2 separate regions of the Homo sapiens genome follow, and region 2 is linked to region 1. Evidence: promoter capture Hi-C in human tissues and cell types (Jung and others, 2019). All regions are on one chromosome and are shown on one strand. The core of a region is centred on a gene start or on the middle of the fragment in contact, and the rest is flanking DNA. Distances in the headings are between cores, read along the strand shown. Region 1 holds the start of SLC32A1 (solute carrier family 32 member 1). Region 2 has its middle 93 kb from the start of LINC01734.

The links. Contacts are between HindIII fragments. The study calls those that stand out against the background at their distance.
Region 2: a fragment that was not itself captured here is called in contact with the fragment with the promoter of SLC32A1 in region 1 in 1 of the 25 tissues and cell types used here (lymphoblastoid cells).

Annotation. Positions count from the first base shown.
Region 1 is chr20:38,723,045-38,725,889 of GRCh38, reverse strand. It overlaps SLC32A1 (solute carrier family 32 member 1), which reads right to left and starts at 1,404. Exons shown (of 2, transcript NM_080552.3): 1 at 776-1,404. The coding sequence starts at 1,165. The HindIII fragment of the contact is 7,924 bases long and covers 1-2,845 here.
Region 2 is chr20:39,316,543-39,319,387 of GRCh38, reverse strand. No RefSeq gene overlaps it. Among named protein-coding and RNA genes, the nearest start is that of LINC01734, 93 kb to the right of the region's middle. The HindIII fragment of the contact is 7,480 bases long and covers 1-2,845 here.

The DNA of each region.
Region 1 (2,845 bases), core at 155-2,654:
GACTAAATGTGTTTGTGTGGGAGCATGTGTGTGCTTTCGTGTGTGTATACCTGTATGTCTCCAACAGGGCCGCACCCAAGGGAGCAGGCTGGTTCCTGTCTGCATGCATCTGTGCATGTGTGTGTGCATATGTTCAAACGAATATTCGTGTGTTTGGTATGTGCAGGTATATGCTTTTGTTTGTGGAGCTGTAGGGGTGTACGCAGGTGCATTTGGGGATAGTACTGTGGTCTATATATAGATACATGTCGTGTGCGCCTGTGCCTGCGCCTTTGTTCGTGGGAAGGGGGGCTGTGGGCATGTGGTGTGCCTGCCTATATACGTGTGCGTGTCTATGCGTGTGTGCGGGGGGAGGAGACTCCGACCTCAGCGATTTCCCCTTCTTCTTTCCTCCCAAAAATGCAGCTGTGAATCCGTTCCAGAGTCCAAGACCAAACCGTGCCCTCCAATCCTGATTTTCTTTCTTTCTCATCGCTTCCTGCTCCCTCCCCCCATTTCCTTCACTTTTGCAGTGTCTCCGGACAGGTGTCTCAGACCGAACTTCAGCCTAGCGGTCTTGCAGCTGGTGCCGTTGGGAGGGAGCGTGGGTTAGGGCGGAAAACACCGCCTGGGGGCGTAGGTCCCCGCGCAGGGCTGGGAGGGATGGAGAAAGGGAGATTCCTGGGTACAGGAGGGGGTCTCCAGGCCGAGATCACCGGGCGACTGTCGGGGGCAGAGCCCGGCACGCTGAGCTGGGAGGGGGGAGGACAGGCAGAACTGGGAATCCCGCGCTTACCTGGATGGCGTTGGTCACGTTCCAGCCTGCCTCCCACGCCGTGATTTTGGGCTTGTCGTGGCCCCCGAATTCGCCACCACCTCCCACCTGGTCCTTGGAGCCGGAGGGCGGCAGAGGAGCTCCGCTGCCTCGCTGATAATGGATGTCTCCCTCGACGGGCGCTTCAGCGCCCTCGTCCCCGCAGGGCTCTCCCTCGGCTTTCAGGATGTCCATCTGCAGGCCCTGGCGGTGCTCAAAGTCGAGGTCGTCGCAATGCGCGAAGCCCACCGCCTCCTCATCCGTGGCCGCCTGAAAACCCATCCTGGCGAACATGCCGCTCATCTTGGCCTGGGACTTGTTGGACACGGACGTGGCCACGTTGGACAGCTTGCTGCGGAGCAAGGTGGCCATGGCGGCGGTGGGGACAGCGGAAAGGACAGAAGGACCCGAGGATGCGGGGAACGCGATGCAAGAAGGCGAGGGCTGGGGGGCGCAAAGTCGCTATCTCCGCTTGCTCTCCGCGCGGCGCCCCGGGGCTCTCTGGCTCATGACCCTCGCAGCTGGCGTTCGAGGCTCTCTCAGGGCTGGACCGGGCAAGCTGGCAGCAGGTCTGGCGGAGCGGCGGCGGCGGCGGTGGTGGCTAGTGCACTGCGGAGCTGCCGCGGGGCGCGAGCTGGGCTGCGGAGGGCGGCGGCGGCGGCGGCGGCGGCAGCGGCGTCAGAGCAGCTACGCGAAGCTGGCGCGGCGCCCCCACCCGTGCGCAGCCCAATGCGCTCCCGCCCCTCGGAATCAGGCGGTGCGGGGGTGGGGGATTGGAGAGAGGAAATACCCGGAGGCAGGGGACGTGAGGAAGGGGCTAGGAGAAGAGAAAGGGGGCGCCGAGGGATTCAGACGTGAGCTGGGGGCAGAAGAAGGGCGCCCTTGGGAAGGAGGCGGGAGGGAGCGCGTGAAAGAGGGAGCGCCGAGGGCAGGGGAGGTGGGGGGGCGAAGTGCTGCATTTCTAGGGGAGGTGCTAAGCTCGCATCCTGGCCCTTCCCACCTCGCCGCCGCAGGGTGGGAGGGGGCCGGCGTGGGCTGATGCTCGCAGTCTCCCACCCCCGGACCACCCCCTCCAGGGTCCGGGAGCTGTGCAGCCCCAGATCCTCTGGCTAAGGACTGGTCTGGGCGCCCCGAAAGCCCGCAGGACTGAGTTGTCAGTCTCTCGCGGAGCGGGTCGTCTATAAGTCAGTTTCCCTGGCACCCATCCTTCGCGCGTAAACCCGGCCGCGAGTCCCCCTTGAAGGTAGAAGTGGCTGGCATGGATCGCTCCCAAGGAAGCTCAGCCTCAGGCTCAGTCACCCGGGTTCTCTCCGCCCGTCCAGGGACGCCGCGAGGGAAGCGATTGTGCGGATCGCTCGCCACCAGCCGCTCTCCAAATGCGTGCAGAATGGAGGCGAAAGGTTGGCTTTTCTCTTTCTTTTCGTTTGGGGGTCTGGAAGAAGGCAGGACTCTATGAGGACACCTCTCGTCAGCCTCCTAGCGGGTCTGCGAATGCCCACGCCGAGAGGGGCGCAGACGGGGCCAGGCGCGGAGGAAAGAAGGGCTCGCGGCGCTGCAAGGCGGAGGAAGCAGAGGCTCGCGGTGCGCTGGGGCCCTGCTCCGACGGCCGCCTCCAGGCTGTGAAAGCTTGGGCTGTTTGTGTTGATTGGGGTACGGGTGTGTGAGCGCGAGTAAGGGAGAGACCCAGAGACAAAGACCGATGCTGTATCAGACTCTGCTTGAGGTTGGATCAGTGTGGCCTCTGAGAATGAGGTTTGGTAACCGCGTGTGTTCTGTGTCTGTGTGGTTTTGCGCGCATTCCAGTGTGTGTGCCAGAGCTAGTGTGTTGGATTACGTATGTGTTCCCGAATGGGGTTGCCTGCGTTCGTGCCTGTGTTAGTCCCTTTGTAGTAGTCTCCGTGAGGGTCCGCTGCTCTGAATGGGTCCCTGCGTAAGTCCCCAGCTGATGTCCTGGCCGGGCTCCTCCTGAGCAGTAAACCGCAGGGCTCCACCTGGCAGTCCCAGCCTGAATGGAGAAGTAGCGGCTGTGACTGGAAGTGGGGGCGGGGGCGG
Region 2 (2,845 bases), core at 143-2,642, 590 kb before region 1:
ATATACGACCTTATTCATGCTCCATCTTCAAATATAATTTTCTCAAATTTAAATTGTCAAGGAAATTCAACTTTTTAAAAACCTAAATCTACCTCCAATTATACCTACTTCAAAGACTTCCTAGCCCATTTGGGGGAATGGGGCTTGAGGTAGGGAACAGCTAATTCAGAATCAAATCTATCTCTTGTTTAGTGCCAGACTGGGTGATACAGAGCAGAGATGCTGCAGGGGACTGAGAAGGAAGAGACAGATGTGGAGGGAGGGCCCGGGAGAGGTGGGGCTATGTCGAGCTTAAGAGGCCTGAGCAGGAGAGCAGGTGGAAATGTGAGAAGGGCCATCCAGATGGAGCCATAGAAGCAAAAGCCCAGAAGCAGGGATGTGATGCATCACATTCCCAGTAGGACACAAGGAGTCCAGTCTGCTGACCCACAAGGTTTGTGCCAGGAAGGAAGCAATAAGTAATTCAACAAACAAAAAATATTGAGTGAAATCCCATTCTGCAATGAACATTAAATTAAATACCTCATAGAATACCATACCAATGCCGCCATAATTTGCAGAAAAGTCTTCCACTTTTATTCTTAAAATATTTGGATAGCTCACATTTTTAGTCCATTATGCTGCACACGCATAGCCCAGGTTTTGATTCTTGAGCACCCAAGGACCAGGTGACCCTGCCTAGCAGCCAAGAACTCAACTTGGGCAGCAATGATATCTCTATCCACAGGCCAGGGTCTGTGGGATGACCTAATGGTAGATTTGGTTTTGTTTTTATTATGTTATTAAGTACAGAAAGGGGTACAAATGTAAATGCTGATATTAGCTATAAGAAACATAGTTTTCAGACAGGTAAAGCAGTTGAAACAAAGATGAAAATACTTAGAAATTCCCCCAAATGACAAATCTTCCATTTCAAGTACTCATTGGCCATAGATTGGTCAACTGTATATTTGGCTGTGAAGAAAAGGATCAAAGCGTATTTAACAAATATTTATATAGAGCTATGTGCCAGGCACTGCTTAAAGCAATTTACAAATATTAACTCATTTAAAAATTAAAGAGACATAAAAGTTAAAGACACAAATAATCACGAGGCACCATGGGATACACATAAATAGAAGAACAGCCTACAAAATAAATGGCCTCTCTTCAGAAATGTCAAGGTCAATTAAAGACAAAGAAAGACTGAATTACTATTCCTGACTAAAGGAGACTACAGAACATGACAACAAATTGCAACAAGTTATCCTTTTTTGGATCAGAAATCAGAAACTTTTTTTGCTAGAAAGGATTTTAAAGTGACCACTGATTAAATTTAAATAAAGTCTGTAGATTGTTCAATTGTATTTATTAGTGCTAATATCCAGATTTTGATAATGTTTCTGTGATTATGTAAAAGAAAGTCCTTGTTTTCAGAAAATCCACACTAGTATATTTAGGACCAAGGGACATCATGTTCACATCTTACTCACAAAAATGGTTTGAAAAAATAATAATAAAAATGTATAAAGAGAGAGAAAATGGTAAACATTAGAAATGCTAACATTTGGGGAGTTTGAGTAAAGGCATACAGGCAATTTTTGTATCATTTTTACATTTTTTCTGTAAGTCTGAAATTATTGAACAAAAAATTATAAAATCATAGAACATATGTAATCAAAACATTATGTCTAAATGATATGGTACTATTTTAATTTTTTAAAATCATTTTTCTCTCTGGGACCAAACAGCCCTTAGACTTTAAAAGCTATTTGGTGACTTTTGAAACTTTAGCTTTCATATATACCTTTAGGCAGGTATTATGTAAGAAAGCAGGAGAGAGGTTTAACAATGAACTTCTGCGGGGATTCAAGTGGGAGATGAGGTTGGCCTGAACTAACATGGCAGCCATAGGTCCTTGAGTTGGGAAACATATATATGAACACGACATATTTTGAAGGAAGAAGTTCCTGGACTTGGTGGGTAACTGAATATTGCCAGAAGATGAGGGGAAGGAGGAAGATGGAGATGCAAGACTTGGGAAGCTGGAGAATCCATGCACTTGATAGACCTAGAACCAGAACAGGAGACAGAAGACTGAGGTTACATTCTGCCTCTGCTACCATTCTGCTGTGTGATCTTGAGGCAAGTGACTTGAATGTAGCAGAGGCAGAATGTAACCTCAGTCTTTCATCTCAATGATAAAAAGATACTACTGGACAGAGTGATAGCTTTCTATTCTAAAAGCATTTTCCGATTAAACAATGCCAGGAAGAGGAACAGTCAATAGGCAGAGAAGTGCACAACACCTATGTTGTGTTGAAGGTGACAATATAACATTTGAGTGGAAGTTTAAGGGAATATTAGATTACAATTTATGAAATTGTTGTTTTTGTAAGTTAAAAATAATCAAATACTGTCAATTCCAGTATTTATCCATGTAAGCCAGCCTTATCCATGTGAGCCGGGAATGGATATACAAATTTAGTAATCCACTAGATGGATGTAAGAGCTGAAGTCCCAGAATGAATCAGCTTTCTGAGGATGGGGAGTATTGAATGAAAACACAATAAAGCTGAGAAGAGAACTTAGCTGGTCACAGAGATTACATGGATTTGTTAGTCATAAAAACAAATATTTATTGGAACCCAACTATGGGCCAGGCACTCTGCCAATGGTAAGAATCCAGAAGTGAATAAAACAGGTGCATTTTCCTGAGCTCTTGAAGATCTTAGTGTAGAAGAGAAAAAGGAGCTGGAAAGAAATTACAACTGTAGCCACTATTAACACTAGTATTTACTGAGCACTTACTCCATGCCAAGCACTGGAATGAAATCCAGACATGATGGGCCTTCTTAGGGTGCCC